Linked DNA regions of Homo sapiens: all the other regions are linked to region 1. Evidence: promoter capture Hi-C in 16 types of primary human blood cells and fetal thymus (Javierre and others, 2016). All regions are on one chromosome and are shown on one strand. The core of a region is centred on a gene start or on the middle of the fragment in contact, and the rest is flanking DNA. Distances in the headings are between cores, read along the strand shown.

The links. Contacts are between HindIII fragments. The CHiCAGO score rates a contact against its expected background, and 5 or more counts as called.
Region 2: a contact is called between a fragment that was not itself captured here and the fragment with the promoter of PDCD10 in region 1, in 1 of 17 cell types (naive CD8 T cells). The highest score is 5.8, in naive CD8 T cells.
Region 3: a contact is called between a fragment that was not itself captured here and the fragment with the promoter of PDCD10 in region 1, in 1 of 17 cell types (activated CD4 T cells). The highest score is 5.9, in activated CD4 T cells.
Region 4: a fragment that was not itself captured here is called in contact with the fragment with the promoter of PDCD10 in region 1 in 2 of 17 cell types (total CD8 T cells and total CD4 T cells); the score reaches 8.1 in total CD8 T cells.
Region 5: a fragment that was not itself captured here is called in contact with the fragment with the promoter of PDCD10 in region 1 in 9 of 17 cell types (naive CD8 T cells, non-activated CD4 T cells, total CD4 T cells and 6 more); the score reaches 26.5 in naive CD8 T cells.
Region 6: a fragment that was not itself captured here is called in contact with the fragment with the promoter of PDCD10 in region 1 in 1 of 17 cell types (fetal thymus); the score reaches 6.0 in fetal thymus.

Annotation. Positions count from the first base shown.
Region 1 is chr3:167,733,443-167,736,257 of GRCh38, forward strand. PDCD10 (programmed cell death 10) reads right to left here and starts at 1,450. Exons shown (of 9, transcript NM_007217.4): 1 at 1,220-1,450; 2 at 772-908. SERPINI1 (serpin family I member 1) reads left to right here and starts at 2,279. Exons shown (of 9, transcript NM_001122752.2): 1 at 2,279-2,381. RefSeq lists a silencer at 1,082-1,211 and an enhancer at 1,262-1,701. The HindIII fragment of the contact is 6,113 bases long and covers 1-2,554 here.
Region 2 is chr3:169,824,772-169,827,586 of GRCh38, forward strand. All of the region lies in intron 2 of LRRIQ4 (leucine rich repeats and IQ motif containing 4), which reads left to right. Among named protein-coding and RNA genes, the nearest start is that of LRRC34, 13 kb to the left of the region's middle. The HindIII fragment of the contact is 924 bases long and covers 940-1,863 here.
Region 3 is chr3:169,803,611-169,806,425 of GRCh38, forward strand. It overlaps LRRC34 (leucine rich repeat containing 34), which reads right to left. Exons shown (of 11, transcript NM_001172779.2): 6 at 443-571. Among named protein-coding and RNA genes, the nearest start is that of LRRIQ4, 7.9 kb to the right of the region's middle. RefSeq lists an enhancer at 2,546-2,690 and a cis regulatory region at 2,618. The HindIII fragment of the contact is 6,759 bases long and covers 1-2,815 here.
Region 4 is chr3:169,786,023-169,788,837 of GRCh38, forward strand. MYNN (myoneurin) reads left to right here. Exons shown (of 8, transcript NM_018657.5): 8 at 394-2,815. The coding sequence ends at 656. Among named protein-coding and RNA genes, the nearest start is that of MYNN, 14 kb to the left of the region's middle. The HindIII fragment of the contact is 8,036 bases long and covers 1-2,815 here.
Region 5 is chr3:169,764,355-169,767,169 of GRCh38, forward strand. It overlaps ACTRT3 (actin related protein T3), which reads right to left. Exons shown (of 2, transcript NM_032487.5): 2 at 2,567-2,815. It also overlaps TERC. Among named protein-coding and RNA genes, the nearest start is that of ACTRT3, 3.8 kb to the right of the region's middle. RefSeq lists enhancers at 87-176, 335-874, a silencer at 387-646 and promoters at 638-1,504, 638-1,142. The HindIII fragment of the contact is 3,023 bases long and covers 1-2,762 here.
Region 6 is chr3:169,745,165-169,747,979 of GRCh38, forward strand. No RefSeq gene overlaps it. Among named protein-coding and RNA genes, the nearest start is that of ACTRT3, 23 kb to the right of the region's middle. The HindIII fragment of the contact is 358 bases long and covers 1,254-1,611 here.

The DNA of each region.
Region 1 (2,815 bases), core at 200-2,699:
AATGTAAAGTAAGAATGAATTGAAAGTCACAGTTGATGCTAAGAAAAATAAAAATATGCAAGAGCCCAATTTTATTATTTGCAGACACACACACAAATACAGCCCAGAGTCAAGAAAATGGGGGAAAAGTAAAGTCTCAAAAAAGACGATGTTACCTCCAAGAAATGCAAAATACCTTCTTTTCTAGTAATGGGCACACTAAACTCTCCTAACGCTACATTATTTGAAAAAAGTGTAGTTTTGTGAAAGAATTCCAATCCCACTATTATCAGTTTTACAAAATGAGAGTAAAAACAGTCCTAAGGTAGAAAAAGAAAAGAATATTCTTCTAAGGATGGGATATATTGTTTAACTGTTGTTCTCCCATCCTATTACCTACCCGTAAAAATGAACTGTGAGAGTAGAGTCTATCATTTAATACACCCCTAAAAAAAGGGGAAAAATCTGTAAAAGTTGAAACTGGCCATTTTTATTTTTTCCAAAAGGATCTTTCCTTTATTGAGGAATTTCACTCCGGTTCAAGAAACAACTTTTTATCTCACAATGGCTTCTTAGATATACTATATAAAATACATTTACTTTGTAACTTCCTCCACCCTTTTCAAAAAGCACAACCAACGTCCCTACTCTAAAGCTGGACTCGAACCGAACTAGATTCAGAAAGTCTGTCCCTACGTGTGTGACCTTGGGCACGTCATATAATCCCTCGGTTTCCTCATCAGCATCCCAAAATGAAAGCGCTCTGAAAGCAGTAAAGGAGTAAAAACATACCTTAGGTATGACACCTAAGAGGGTCAAGTCTTTCTGTTTAAGGCAAAATTATCTCCTTAGAGGGCCACATCATTAAACTGGAACTGAATCCGTAGACCCCAACATTTGTCTCTTCCTTCTTCCAGTGCTCCTCTTCCCTCAAAGGGCATAACCCGAGTCACCCCCAAGAGCCGACTCCCAAGCACCCTTTCCTTCCTCCTCCCTTTTCTCTTACTTACAAAGCAGGGGGAAAACAGCAGCCTCACCTCTCGGTCCGAAGCCACACCTTCAAAGGACCCCACCCCAGGCACATCCGCCCTGTCCCCTCTCCCGGGGCACCAGGGGCCAACCTCGCCCTTCCCCTCCCGCCCCCACCTAGAGGAGACTTCCTGGAGGCGTTCGGGCCCAAGCCGGCAGGCGGCATTTACAAACCCGCTTTACGCCACTCGCGTAGGGTAACCTCGCTTACGCCCGTAGGGCCCCGCTCTCAGCCCCGTCCGCTCCGCCTGCCAGAACCAAGCCCAAGTGCCTCAGCCATGGCCCCTGCGTGACCCTAGACCTCTTCTGCTCGGTGCAGAGCTACGGGGACTGGGACAGAACAGCTACACCTTACCAGCAACTGAGGCACTGACTTCACTTCCCACCTTGCAGCCCTCTTCAACTCCCGGATCAATTCACTCCGGCGACGCCGGAAGGACCCAAGAGGAACCAGGCGTTGTCCGGAATCCTGCCCAGCCGGAGTCGTGCAGAGGCTTATGGGGACTCGTAGTCCCGCTCGCCGGCGTTGTCCGCAATTCCTGCAATCGGAAGACTACACTTCCCGGCAGGCCATGCGGGGGATCCTGAGGCGATGGGTGGTGACACTTCTAGCCAATAGTAGGAGAATTCCCTGCCTTTGCGGGAGGAGGTGAGATGAAGAGAGATGGTGCACGGAAAGGAGAGGAAGGGCGGGGCAAGCCCTCACCTGCGCCAATCAGGGTGCGGAGTAGGCCCCGCAGGCGCCTCACCCATTGAGGGGGCGGGCTGACAGAGCAGAGGAAGGAAGGGGGTGAGGGGCCTGTGGTGGGGATCCTGGGGCTGTCGGGCTGAGTATGCCGTGTGGGTGGAGAGGAAGCCTCGGGGAAATCGCCCAGGTGAAGGGAGGGCTTGGTGTGGGGACTTGCACTGGGCAGAGGGGCAGCTTCCCTGAGAGCAGCTAAGCCCCAGGCACACCGGGCATCCGGACACACAGGTCGGGGAAGGATAGGCTGAGCCGGGGCTCCCAGCAGAGACGCCTGGGTGGGGCAGGAGGCCGCTCCAGGTGTGAGCCACAGAGGAGGGGAGAGGGACCCCCACGGGAGTGGAAGTGGCAGAGCAGCTGCAGAAGTGCAGGGAGCGGAAAGGTACCAGGGCAGCTGCTTTCCGCTGCCTCCGGTCCGGGCAGCTGCAGAAACAGCAGGGGGAGGAGCAACAGCTGCCAAATTCGCCAACTAGAGGAGGGAGAGGCGGAGCTTGGGTCCCTGTAGAAGCCAGAGGCGCAGTCTGGACTGTAGTTTCCCGGGAGAGACGAAAGCAGGAACGAGAGCGGAGCGGAGCACAGTCCGCCGAGCACAAGCTCCAGCATCCCGTCAGGGGTTGCAGGTGTGTGGGAGGTAAGCGTGGGTCCTTCTTCGGGGCGTCTGCACTGCCCTGGAGAAAACGTCTTCCAATAGGAATTACATCAAGACACAGCTAAAAGAGTCCGCGTTGGGTTAGGAAACCGGTGCAAAACCTCTCGGGTGAAAGATTTACATTTTTCGACTTTAAGGGCAAAAAAGCAAAAGGAAGCTTGACTCTGGGTATAAAGGGCGTGGTTAGTGTTTTTGGTTTGAGTTGCACCAGTAAAACTGTTCTGGGAGATCTGAAGATTGAGAAAAATCCTGCTAATTGAGGACGAGGTGGATGTTATCTGGTGGATGTTATAGGTGCGTAGCCTATAAAAAGCAAAAATTTTGCTATTGATATAGAATAACTTCTGAACTATTTCACTAGGAAAATAACTTTGCATTCTTCTTCAGTGTCTACCCTTTACGTTGGTTTATCAGAT
Region 2 (2,815 bases), core at 152-2,651, 2.1 Mb after region 1:
CAAAGTGCTGGGATTACAGGTGTAAGCCACCATGGCTGGCCTATAATATTTGATTTAAAAAGAAAAAAATAGCTGTTAAGAGCAAAAGACAACTGTAGAGGGAGTAAAAAGGGGAATTTGGAAATCAACAACTATAATCAAATAATAGGTCTGCTTTACCTGGCCATGGACACCAGTCTCATGTGTTCCCTATAAATTATAAAAGTCCTGGGCCTTACGGATTTATTTTTAAAAATCTTTTTTTTTTTTTTTTTGAGATGAGCTCTCGCTCTGTTGCCCAGGCTGGAGTACAATGGCGCCATCTCAGCTCACTGCAACCTCCACCTCCCAGGTTCAAGCGATTCTCCTTCCTCAGCCTCCCGAGTAGCTGGGACTATAGGTGCCTGCCACCACGCCCGGCTAATTTATGTATTTTTAGTAGAGGCAGGGTTTCACCATATTGGCCAGGCTGGTCTCAAACTCCTGACCTCATGATCTGCCCACCTCAGCCTCCCAAAGTGCTGGGATTACAGGCGTGAGCCACTGTGCCCGGCTGCTAAAAAAATCTTTTATTTGATTTTTTATTTCTAGAACTTTTTTCCCCAAATTGCTATGGGGTTTTAAAGCTGCCTTTCAGGAAGTAAACATTTTGATGGTAACTTGTAGATTTAGGTCGAGATTCTAGGACTTAATCTCCACTGATGTAGCAACTCACCTTGGAGGATTTTTGAGGTTCCGTGAGAGCCCGGCCCTGAACTATTCCACTGCTGATGTAAGAAATTCCTTTTAGTGGACTAAGTCAGTCATTCTGCAGTTGGAGTGAAAGACTTAAAATATAAAGTACATGTGGGAGGGATAACACATTATACTGAGCCATGAATAATACCTAATCCTTTTCTGAGAGAAATTTTAAGAAATCAAAGGAGCAAATCACACACAGACTGCTTGTTAACAAAAATAAGCTTCATCCAATACCAAGTTTTAGCACAAGTCAAACTGCACTGAAATGTAGACATGTTAAATATTATTGTATTGAACATGACAATCTCTGTGTACCAGTGCTTTTTCCTCTTCAGTTATTCTGATGGGTTTTGTGTGTGTGTGTGCATTTGTCCTCCCTTCTCAATTTCCTCTTATGCTAATACCACCTTCCAATGCATTTCTCTCCTCAATGAAACATGGCCTTTAAGCCAGCTCATTATCTCTCCCTCCCCAAAGACTCAACTCATGGGTTACTAGCTCTTAAAGCCTAACCAGTAGCTTCTACTTGCCTGTGTGCATGCAAAAAATATCTGATTTTCAATGTGTACCTAGATGGATTTTATTTGTAGAGTATACTTCTATTAAAGGAGAAAAGCAGGCCACGTGCGGTGACTCACGCCTGTAATCACAACACTTTGGGAGGATGAGGCGAGTGGATCAACTGAGGTCAGGAGTTTGAGACCAGCCTGGCCAACGTGGCGAAACCCCATCTCTACTAAAAATACAAAAATTAGCCGGGCATGGTAGTGGGCACCTGTAATCCCAGCTACTCGGGAGGTTGAGGCAGGAGAATCGCTTGAACCCAGGAGGCAGAGGTTGCAATGAGCCAAGATTGTACCATTGCCGTCCAGCCGAGGCAAGAAGAGTGAAACTCCGCCTCAAAAAAAAAAAAAGAAAAAGAAAAAGGAAAAAACCAAAACAATGTACCAGATCCCAAAATGGCTATATGTCAGTTACAGTGTCATCAGTAATTGTCCTCATCTAATGCTCTACAGATTTTCTATACATCTAGATTTCTTCTCATTATACTTTACTATGACTATGATGAAACTAACTACTGGATCTTAAATACTCCTAAAAAAAATTTTTGAACATTCAATGTGCTTTGAAAAAGAAAAGCTAAGCTTTTATGAGTTAAGTGAACAGCAATAAGAATGAAATTTCTAGGTTATAATAAAATGGTTAGATTGAAAAATCTTTTTTCATTGTTTTGGACTGCACAGAATGCAGGCATTTTGTATTGAAGACATCTAAGTGCTTGATGAAGAATTTTGAAATAGCCAAAGAGGAAAGCTTAAACATCAGTTTCTCCAAAGATTGACTTCATCTAATTAAAATAAATAGGTAAATAAATAAAACTGGAAAACTGTTACAGCATTTTTAGGAAAATGAGTCCTTACTCTACACAAAAAAGAGAAAAATGCATTATGGAAGATTCCAAGTATGTGAAACTTTTACAGATAGGTTGTCCTCAGTGAACTTTCTTTTTCTCCAACTGTAAGTGACCCATTCACCAATTACCTGTCTATTCCACCCATCCATAGAGAGGTGGGGGTGGGAGTGGCTCAGCTGAGCTCTAGCCAGAATGAAAGTAGGGTGGCTGACTAGGGAATGGATGGGAAGAATGCCCATGGGCTCAAGCAGGGAACTGTGGGGAAGGATTTCCCAGTTAGGAATTAAGCCAGATAAAGGAACATATGAGTTAAGGAGCTGTTGAGCTATATAGCTGGGATTTTTTTCTACGAGAAAATAAGGCATCTCTGTAACACAGTCAATAGGGTGATTGTCACATATTTTAAGAATGAGATTTTTTCGCCGGGTGCGGTGGCTCATGCCTGTAATCTCAGCACTTTGGGAGGCCTAGGCGGGCGGACCACGAGGTCAGGAGATCGAGACCATCCTGGCTGACATGGTGAAACCCCGTCTCTACTAAAAATACAAAAAATTAGCCGGGCGTGGTGGTGGGCGCCTGTAGTCCCAGCTACTCGGGAGGCTGAGGCAGGAGAATGGCGTGAACCCGGGAAGCGGAGCTTGCAGTGAGCCGAGATCGCGCCACTGCACTCCAGCCTGGGCG
Region 3 (2,815 bases), core at 169-2,668, 2.1 Mb after region 1:
TAGTAGAGACGGGGTTTCACCATGTTGGCCAGGCTGGTCTTGGACTCCTCACCTCGGGTGATCCACCTGCCTCAGCCTCCCAAAGTGCTGGGATTATAGGCGTGAGCCACTGCAGCCTAAAATGTATTTTCAAAAGTAAAAAATTATATGAATAAAGTAATATTTGTTTAATTAAAGTGAACATGATCTTTTTCTAAAAATTCCATACAGTTTAAGATGAGTTATATAGATGGAAGTTTAGGAATATTTTTATTAAGTATTTTTCTATGTTATTTACTATAGTCTGATTTTATTAATAATCTGCACTATTATGTCTAGGGGAAAAACACCTTTTCTCTGATATTAGACATAAGAGGCAAAATTAATCATTCATAAGACTCTGATTTAGCTGTTCTCTAATGACCCACTATCTGGATGATTTTCTCATAACCAGTTTACTCACCAGATCACAGTCACCCAGATCTAATTTCTCTAATGATGAATTAATTTGCAGCATTGCAGCAAAAAACATTCCACCTTTATTTTCAATTTTGTTTCCAGTCATTCTTAGGTATTTCAGAGTCCGATTCTTCTGAAAAGGAAAAAAAACTTATTTAATAATTGTTAATCCACAGAATTCTATATATTACATGAATTAGGAGACTGTATTACTATTTGCAGACTCCAATTTTCATGGAGCTAGAACACGATATATATTTTTTTTGAGACAGAGTCTCGCTCTGTCGCCCAGGCTGGAGTGCAGTGGTGTGATCTCGACTCAATGCAAACTCCACCTCCTGGGTTCACAGCATTCTCCTGCCTCAGCCTCCCAAGTAGCTGGGACTATAGGCACCCACCACCACGCCTGGCTAATTTTTTTCTGTATTTTTGGTAGACATGGGGTTTCACCATGTTAGCCAGGATGGTCTCGATCTGACCTCGTGATCTGCCCAGCTCGGCCTCCCAAAGTGCTGGGATTACAGGCATGAGCCACCGCGCCCAGCCAGAAGAGGATATATACCTTAAAGGTAACATTCAATCTACCATAATAGATAAAAATCTAGTTTAACAGTTGAGTAGAAAGAATGCCCAAGAAACAGATGCCCAAGCAATAACCAGTAAATAAAACATATATTAATAAACTTTCACTGGAAAAATCTGTAAATTTATCTTAAGAAAATTATAGCACTTCACTTTTTTAAATTGAGGTGAAATTCACATAACATAAAACTGACCATTTTAAAGTATACAATTCAGTAGCATTTAGTACATTCACAATATTGCACAGTCATCACCTGTAGCTAGTTCCAAAACATTTTCATCATCCCCGAAGCCGGTCCTATACCATTAACCAGTCACTCCCCATTCCTCCTATATCACTTTTAAAGTAATATAATTTGATAAATATTTCACAAAATCACAGACATTTCATCATTCTAATGAGTAACTATTAGGACATATAATAGTGTAAATAATTATCACGATTCAAACCCCTCTGAGATCAGGAAGAAGAAAAGGATGTCCTCTCACCACTTCTATTTAACATTGTACTGGAGGTTCTAGCCAGAGAAATTAGCCAAGAAAAACAAAAAGAAAAACCATACAAATTGGAAATGAAGTGAAACTCTGTATGTGACACCATCTTGCATAGGGAAAATCCTAAGGATTCCACCAAAAAAACCTGTTAGAACTAACACAAGAGTTCAGCAACATAGCAGGACACAAGATCAATATACAAAAACAGCTGTATTTCCATATGCTAACAATGAACAACCTAAAAATGAAATTAAGAACAACAGTTCCACTTACAATAGCATAAAAAAAAGTTAGGAATAAATTTAACAAAAGAAATGTAAGATTTGCACATTGAAAACTACAGAGCATTGCTGAAAGAAATGAAAGGCCTTAAATAAATGAAACATCTTATGTTCGAGGTTTGGAAGACTTAAGATGGCAATACTCCCCAAGGTGATCTACAGATTTACTGTAATTCCTATTAAAATCCCAGCTGCTGGCCGGGTGAAGTGGCTCATGCCTGTAATCCCAGCACTTTGGGAGGCCGAGGTGGGCAGATAATCTGAGGTCGGGAGTTTGAGACTAGCCTGACCAGCGTGGAGAAACCCTGTCTCTACTAAAAGTACAAAATTAGCCAGGCATGGTGGTGCATGCCTATAATCCCAGCTACTTGGGAGGCTGAGGCAGGAGAATTGCTTGAACCTAGGAGGTGGAGGTTGTGGTGAGCCAAAATCGCGCCATTGCACTCCAGCCTGGGCAACAAGAGCAAAACTCCATCTCAAAAAAAAAAAAAAAAAAAACTCCCAGCTGCTTTTCTTGCAGAAATTGATTAACTGACCTAAAATTCATATGGAAATGCAAGGGACACAGAAGAGCCAACACAATCCTGAAAAAAGAACAAGGACACATTTCTTGATTTTAAAACCTACTACAAAGCTATAGTAATCAAGATAGTGTGGTACTGGCATAAGGATAGACATACAGATTAAAAGAATAGAATTGAGAGTACAGAAATAAACTCCTGTAATGATGGTTAGCTGATTTTTGGACAAAACTGTCAAGACAGTTCAATGGGAGAAAGAATAGTCTTTTAACAAATGGTGTTAGGACACGTGGATATACACATGCAAAAGAATAAAGTTGGATTCCTACCTCATACCATATTCAAAAATTAAAATGGATCAAAGAAAGAGCTAAAACTGTAAAACTCTTAAAAAAACATAAATCTTTGTGACTGGGTTTTCAAGATGAACCTTGAAAACATTAAGCCAGTCCCAAAAGGCCACATATTGTATGATTCTGTTTATATGAAATGTCCACA
Region 4 (2,815 bases), core at 142-2,641, 2.1 Mb after region 1:
AGTATAACGACATTTACTCTCAAAGAATTTACAGTCTGGTTGAGGATTCAAGGCATACCTGAGTAGAATGTTAAATGGCAATAAGAGAGATAGATGCCACAAGGCAGTATATGAAAATTGACAAATGTGTGATTAAGCCGATATAACAGCTCACCCTGTTTCATTCTTAATCAAGTCCATTTTTTTAAATGGAGTTGGTGCTTGAACTTAACCTTGAGGCCCAGATTGAATTTACATAGATAGTGAGGAGGGCATATGTACAAAAGAGAAACCGCTTGAGTAAAGGTATGGTGGTTGGAATGTAATTTCTGGGAATGGTAAGTACATTAGTCTACCTCAGGGGTTTAGTTTTGTTTTAAAGATAATGTAGATTTTTTTTTCCTTCCATTCTAGGTGCAGATAAAACTCTAGACTCCAGTGCAGAGGATCATACTTTGAGTGAACAGGATTCCATACAAAAAAGTCCTTTATCAGAAACTATGGATGTGAAGCCTTCTGATATGACTTTACCATTAGCTCTTCCACTTGGGACTGAGGACCATCACATGCTTCTGCCTGTCACGGATACTCAGTCTCCTACATCAGATACATTGTTGAGGTCAACTGTGAATGGGTATTCAGAACCACAGTTGATTTTTTTACAACAATTATACTGACTTTGTAAGGAATATGGAATTGCTAAGATATCATTGGTAGCAAACATCTCTGGTAAGGTGCATATATTCATATTAAATTCCCATTCATTTGAGTTGTGACCATTATTTTTCATTCACTGAAGTAAAAGCACCTGATGCTGCATCACAACTGCAATGTTTGTTTTTATTTTTGGCTTTATGTCTATACTCCACAGAGAGCTTTTTAAGTAATGAATTATGTAGCACTATTTTGGGTGGATGAGTTTTATTTTCTTTTAAAGCTGCCTTAATTCCATTTTTATTTTGCATTTTAGAATTGCCCTTCATTTACTAAATCAGCCAGTTAATGTGATTCAGTTGTGACCTGTGGGATTTTAAAATTTTCCTGCCCTCATAATTTAAGCAAAATCCACGATAGTATCAGCCCAAGAGTGTGTTGCTATTTGTAAGCCCCATGGATCAATACATAAACTATGCATAAAAATAAAATTTCATATTTTCGCTCGTAAAAATTTAGGCGCTGAATAAGAATTGTGCTATTTCTCTATTAATATATTGTTAGAAATAACTTTTCTAATGAAACAAAAATGTTTCTCAAAATCTAGAAAAGTGCATATAAATTTTTGTTCATTTAGAACTGAGTATTCTGGAGAAAACCAATGGTCAGCACTTTTGGTTTGAGTTATCTGAGATTGTATTTTCAAAATGAATTTTAAGTAGATATTTGGTGTTTTTATCTTGTCAAAGACAGTTTCAAAATTTGATTCAGTTTATGTTTTATTCCGTTCTAAAATATTGGAGATGAGGAAAATGTACTTGAGTTTTGAAATATTTTGGTAAGCCTCTCTTACTCCTGTTATGCACTTTTTAAAATAAATACTGAATTCCAGAAAGAATTTTCTAGATATAAACTTAATGCATACTAGAAATCACTTGGCTTCTAAATTTGGTACATTATATTGCATAAAGAGTTAAGAAATTAACCTCAATTATAAGTAAACATTTTGAGTTACCAGAAAGCCAACTATAGTTAAATATTTTATATCTGAGTTTTCTATAAGTTTGGGGTTTGTTAATTTTATAAATTAAACCACAACTTTTGGTGGTGGTTGTAGTTTCACAATGGTCCTTTTCCTTCCAAATGAATGTAGAAAATTCGTTATTATCCTGATATTTGCACCACTCATCCCCATGCCACTTTTCCCACATATTAATTTATTTCACTGCCTGATCTTTGGATATGAAATTATGAGTTCCACAAAGTCAATTTTTATAGTGCCAATCAAACAGCATGGTGATATTCTTTTTCTTTTTTTTTCCCCCCACAAGGCTGTTGTTCAGTGTGAGATGACATCATTTCTTATTTCTGCCATGCTGTGGCTTTTTTGTGTTCTGCTTTTAAACTACACCTGTAGTACAGTTAATATGTTTTTTATTGGTATTGATTTCTTTAATTCATTAATTTTCTCTATTTGGGACCCAAGTCATAAGAACCAATTAGAGGACATAATAAAAACACTTAATGCTTGTAGTCTGTAGAGATCTTCACCATTTCACAGCACACACATTATTTTCATAATAAATTGCCACTGGTGGGACATGGGACTGACTTATTTGAATAGAGTTTGAAATACCACCTTTGTATGATGCAAACAATATTTGATTATTTTATCTAAGAAATCTATGCATGTGTATCAAGTTAAAATAGTGGGTTTAAATACAATTTACAAAGCATTAGAATGTTACCTAATCTCTTCTGGGTTAAATGTGATAGGAATGTATTGGAATGTGAAGAAATTATAGAAAATTAAAAGACTCAGCCTCTTTAGGAAGTTTGCTAAAATGGAGAGGTTATGTTTAATTTATTTATATCTTCGTTAATCCAAGCATCTAATGAACAAAAAACTGCTACAGTGACGTCATAATTCTATAAGGGCAATAGTTGCCAAATTTCCTCTGGTATTATTAGCATTCTGCCTTTGCATAGATTAGCCTTCAAATTTATTATTTTTAGTATTATTTGATACGATTGAAGTGGCTAAGATTGATTGAGCTTTTCTTGATCACATTTTCTGCTTCTTAGCTAAAGTAATTTTATTTAAATTGACATGGCTTGAGTTGTCATCATTTTCTGCTCTTCTAGAATGATGTGTAGAGAAAACTTGAAGATACTATCCCTT
Region 5 (2,815 bases), core at 1-2,500, 2.0 Mb after region 1:
GGAACTAAGTTGTAATACAACCATAAAAGGCAACAAAAAGCGGAAGACGGGAGAACCCACGCAGGAACGGCTCCAGGCAACCCCGGCTCACTGCCCATTCATTTTGGCCGACTTTGGAGGTGCCTTCACGTCTCCTGCCAATTTGCAGCACACTGGCCCAGTCAGTCAGGTTTGGGGGTTCACAAGCCCCCATTGCCGGCGAGGGGTGACGGATGCGCACGATCGGCGTTCCCCCCACCAACAGGAAAGCGAACTGCATGTGTGAGCCGAGTCCTGGGTGCACGTCCCACAGCTCAGGGAATCGCGCCGCGCGCGGGGACTCGCTCCGTTCCTCTTCCTGCGGCCTGAAAGGCCTGAACCTCGCCCTCGCCCCCGAGAGACCCGCGGCTGACAGAGCCCAACTCTTCGCGGTGGCAGTGGGTGCCTCCGGAGAAGCCCCGGGCCGACCGCGGCCTCCAGGCGGGGTTCGGGGGCTGGGCAGGCGACCCGCCGCAGGTCCCCGGGAGGGGCGAACGGGCCAGCAGCTGACATTTTTTGTTTGCTCTAGAATGAACGGTGGAAGGCGGCAGGCCGAGGCTTTTCCGCCCGCTGAAAGTCAGCGAGAAAAACAGCGCGCGGGGAGCAAAAGCACGGCGCCTACGCCCTTCTCAGTTAGGGTTAGACAAAAAATGGCCACCACCCCTCCCAGGCCCACCCTCCGCAACCCGGTGCGCTGCCGGGCGAGTCGGCTTATAAAGGGAGCGGCCGCCGACCGCACGGATTGGCCAAGCTGACTCTCGCGGCTCTCGTGAGAGTCACTCTCTCGGGCGGGCTGGTTGGGGGGAACGGGAAATTAAAGTTCCATTTCCGGCCATGAGGAAGGACGTTGCCCTTCCGCACGTCCGGGAAAGGCTTTGCGTCTTTACTTCCGACCTTCTTTAAAGGTGAAACTAACTTGAGGTATCAGAGGGCCTTTTTTCTATCCTCTGCAGACCAGACGCGGTTCACCTCGACTACCTTAAAAATGGAATTCACAGGAAGATTTTAGGGCCTAAGACACAGAACACTAATTCCTAGTTTTGATCATCACATTTTTTGGAGAACTTTGTGAAAATAGATTCCCAGGCAGCACTGACTACAGCAGAATCTTGTCTCGGCTCAGTGGGATGCGTCCGAGTTCCTACCCTGCCCCCTTCTCCTTAGAATGCCTTCTCCAGCCTCTCCTTGAGCAGAGGATGGCTTTAATCAAGTGTAACTACTACATTATTAATCTTAAGGACTGAATCTCCCTTTTATTAGGAAAGAAAGGCGTTTCAATCATTGACTTTGCTTTAAAGTAGTGCTGTGTCTTGATGAGGTAAAAAGAGGGGAGTAATCCACCATAAATTGTAACGATTTTTTTTTTTGAGACGGAGTCTTGCTCTTTCGCCCAGGCTGGATGGAGTCTAGTGGCGTGATCTCGGCTCACTGCAACCTCTGCCTCCCGGGTTCAAGCGATTCTCGTGTCTCAGCCTCCTGAGTAGCTGGGATTACAGGCGCCTGCCACCACGCCCAGCTAGTTTTTGTGTTTTTAGTAGAGACGGGGGTTTCACCATGTTGCCCAGGCTGGTCTCGAACGCCAGGGCTCAAGTGATCCACCCGCTTCGGCCTCCCAAAGTGCTGGGATTACAGGTATGAGCCACCGCACCCGGCCGCGAATTTTTATAATGGCCAGTATAGTGCAGTTTTACATATAAATGACAGGATGATCTTAAAAGTTTTACTCGTATTCAGTTAGATAAACTCCGTGGAGTTGTCGCTGTCGGTCCTCGATCTGAAAGAAAAGTAAAATATCTCCCTCTCCATCTCTCTCCCTCCTTCTCTCTCTCCCATCCCCTTTTTCTTTCATAGCATCTGCCAGGTTGTAAAGTTTTTTACGGACAGAATCTGACTCCTGTTTTTAGCACTATTGCACTTAGCACAGTACCTTACATAGAGTAGATGCTAAATGCTTTGAGTTATATGTCAACACTACCACCATTCTCTTAGCATCCCACATTATCTCAAACCCTTCTTTCCCCTTCATATCTAAGTAGGCACTAAATCTTGTCAGTTTTCATAATTTCTTTTTTTAAATTCCTATTGCTTATAATCTTGAGTACAAGACTTGGCACTTTATATGTGGACTAGTAACTTTCTAACTGATCACCAAATCTCCAGGGCCTTCCTCATTCAATTTATTCTCCAAACTATCACATTCATCATAACATAGTTTCCTTATGGCTCCTGCTTTTAAATCTTTAATTTCTCTCCTTTGCATATTGGATATTTAGCACTTTAAGCCTTTCAGTCCCTGGCCTTCACTTAACCTTGCTAGTCATAGCGCTTGTTCTGCTCTATATGAGCTCTTGACTTGAACAAAATCAGTCTAAACTTAGGCGTGGTGGTGCATACCTGTGGATTCAGTTACTTGGGAGGCTGAGGGCAGAGCCCAGGAGTTGGAGGCTGCAGTGAGCTATGATTGCACTACTGCACTCCAGCCTGGGACACAGGGCAAGACTCTGCCTCTAAAACTAAATAAATGAATAAATACATACATAAACAAAAATTTTAAAAACAAAATCAGTCTATTAAACATGCCCTGAATATGCTTTGTTCATTCTCATCTTTAGCAACTTGTTCATTTTAGTATGCTTGCCTGGATATCTGCGCTCCATCCCAATGCCACCCCTTCCATGATGGCATACCTCTGCTATGGAGTCTCGTTCCTCACCACAGCAACCTTCTTTCCCTAAACTTCAATAAGCTTAAATCTTATCACTCATTTGGCACATAGCATATTGTACCACAAATGCTC
Region 6 (2,815 bases), core at 183-2,682, 2.0 Mb after region 1:
ATGAATAGGTTAATGTGTTTTATCATAAAAATCACTGGAAACACTCATGGCAAAGTCAGTTTTTTTTTGTTTTGTTTTGTTTTTTTTTTTTTGAGACGGAGTCTCGCTGTCGCCCAGGTGGGACTGCGGACTGCAGTGGCGCAATCTCGGCTCACTGCAAGCTCCGCTTCCCGGGTTCACGCCATTCTCCTGCCTCAGCCTCCCGAGTAGCTGGGACTACAGGCGCCCGCCACCGCGCCCGGATAATTTTTTTTGTATTTTTAGTAGAGACGGGGTTTCACCTTGTTAGCCAGGATGGTCTCGATCTCCTGACCTCATGATCCACCCGCCTCGGCCTCCCAAAGTGCTGGGATTACAGGCGTGAGCCACCGCGCCCGGCCCAAAGTCAGTTTTTAACTTTACATTTAGCTATTAATATTCTTTTGAAAAATAGAGTAGCTACCACTTAGCCTTCTTTAGGCCTCTAGTAGTACATACTTAAGCTCAAATTTACAGAAAGCCCCTTTAGGGCAAAATGCTACCATAAAAGCAATGCATCTGAGTCAGAGAACCCAGCCATGTTCAACTTCTCCCACAACCTCTCCCACTAGGAAAGGGAGACAGAGCTCTGAGCCTCAGATCAATCAATGTGAGGAATGACCTGTCTTTATTCTGGTGGCTGGTGTTGAGCTGGAGGAAATGATTTGGTGGCCGAAATTCAGTTGTTTTTGCACATAAAAAAGTATTTTCCCCTCTAAAAAATATTTATTTAACTCTGTCAACCACCACACCAAGCACCACACCACGTCCTGTAACAGCTATCTTGTATTCGAATGACGCGAATGTGAAGCGTAATGTGTGGATTGTGAGGAACAAGCCCCCACCATGAATGTCTGCGAAGAAAAGGGAAAAAGACCTTTAATCTTTGCAGTGTATTAGGCCAAGTATGAAAGCTGACTACACACTATGCACTATGGAGGATGTGTCTGTGTGTATATCTGTGTGTGTGTCAAGGGGCTGATGTTTTTAAAATTGGTAACTGATTTTGCTATATTGACAGCTCCGGTTCCAACCATTATGATTTATTCTGCTGGCTTCATTAAGATATTGTCATCATAACTAAGGCTGGTATAGCATTTACTGTTCATAAAATGCTCTCATGCATGTCAAAATTTGCTCGTTTAACATATGTGTACTAAATACCAACCCTGTGCGAGGTTCTCGCAAGCTTCAGGAATACAAAGCTAAAAGACAAGGTATCCCATCTTTCAAAAAGCTTCACAGTCTGGGGAGGTGAAAGGGAAGCAAACCTCACAGCTGGATTTTAAAACAATGTTAGATGTCCCATGATAGAAGAATGAAGGGGCGCTAAGTAAAATGAAACACAGTAGCTCTGTTTCTGCTTGGAGGGACACAGCCAGGATCCAGGAAGGTGTAAGTAATCGAAAACTAAATAGCACATGATCTAGCAGAGAAGGGACATTTTCTGAAAACCACAGATCATTATGGGATACCACAGGCTCACTGAGTATCAGCAGGTGAGTCTGGTGAGGAAGTGTCAGGCAGAGGTGTCCTGGGCATATATGCCTAGTGTCACATAGGGAAGGTAAAAAATAAAGGTGATAAAAGGAAAGCTTACAAGCAGAGAAGGAGCAGAGTGTCCGCAATCCCCTGAACTCTCATTATCCCACAGTTTCGGCCCTGTGTAGATGGGCCACATGTCCATGGCTAACAGTGCAGTAGAAAGGGACCCTGCCCTACAATCCTGTAGGGAACAGGGAACATCTATGCACTTGGATGTCCCGTGGTCACAGAAGTAGCTTGATAGAAAGGGAGGGTCGGGTCTCTGCAGCCCAGAAACTGGCATCCACCTGTTCTAGTGGGCTAACTCTAACTTGCTGAGCCAACTTTCTACTCATCTACCAAAAACGGGAACATGAGCCTCCAGTACATCCAGATCTATTGCTTATAAGAGGAATGCAGAACAGGAACTGAATGAAGTCTCTTGTCCGCCGCAGCAAGGAGGTGATTCGAAACCACAGGTGTCAAGGAACAACCAACTGTTCTTGGGCAGAGAAGTAATAGGATATGATTTCTATTTTAAAGAGGTCACCAGCATTGTACAAGATAGGTGAAAGATAGGAGACCAGCAGGGAGCTATTGCAGAAGGTCAGACTAGGGGGTCTGACCCAGAGCAAAGAAGGTGGGGAGGGGCAGTCAGACTGGAGAGATGCCACACAGGGATGAAATGGACAGGACTTCAAGACTGCTTAGATGATGGGGATAGGGGTAAAAGAAGGAAAGAACAGAGTCTCATATTACCTGGTGTCTGACGGAGTGACAAGATGGACTGGGGAAGACAGAGTAAGGAGGGAGAGAAAAGTCAATAAGGCTACTTTTTTCAACTTATTATTTTGAAATAACTATAGATTCATAGGAAGTTGGAAACATAGTACAGAGAAGTTCCATGTACCCTTCACTTCATCTCCCCTAAAGGGGACATCTTACATAATTATAGCACAATATCAAAAGGAGACAATTGACACTGGTACAACACATGTGTAGTTGTCATTTGATCACACCAGTCAATTTACGTAACCACGAATTCAATTAAGATAAAAAACTATTTCATCACCACGAACATCTCCCTCATGCTACCCCTTCACAGTTACAGCCCCCTTCCCTCCACCACCCCTATTCCCTGGCAGCCACTAAGCTATTCTCCATCTCTACAATGTTGTTATCTTGAAGATGTCATGTAAATTGAATCATCCAGTATGTGACCTTGTGTGATTGGTTTGTTTCACCTAGCATAATGCTGGAAGTGCACCCAAGC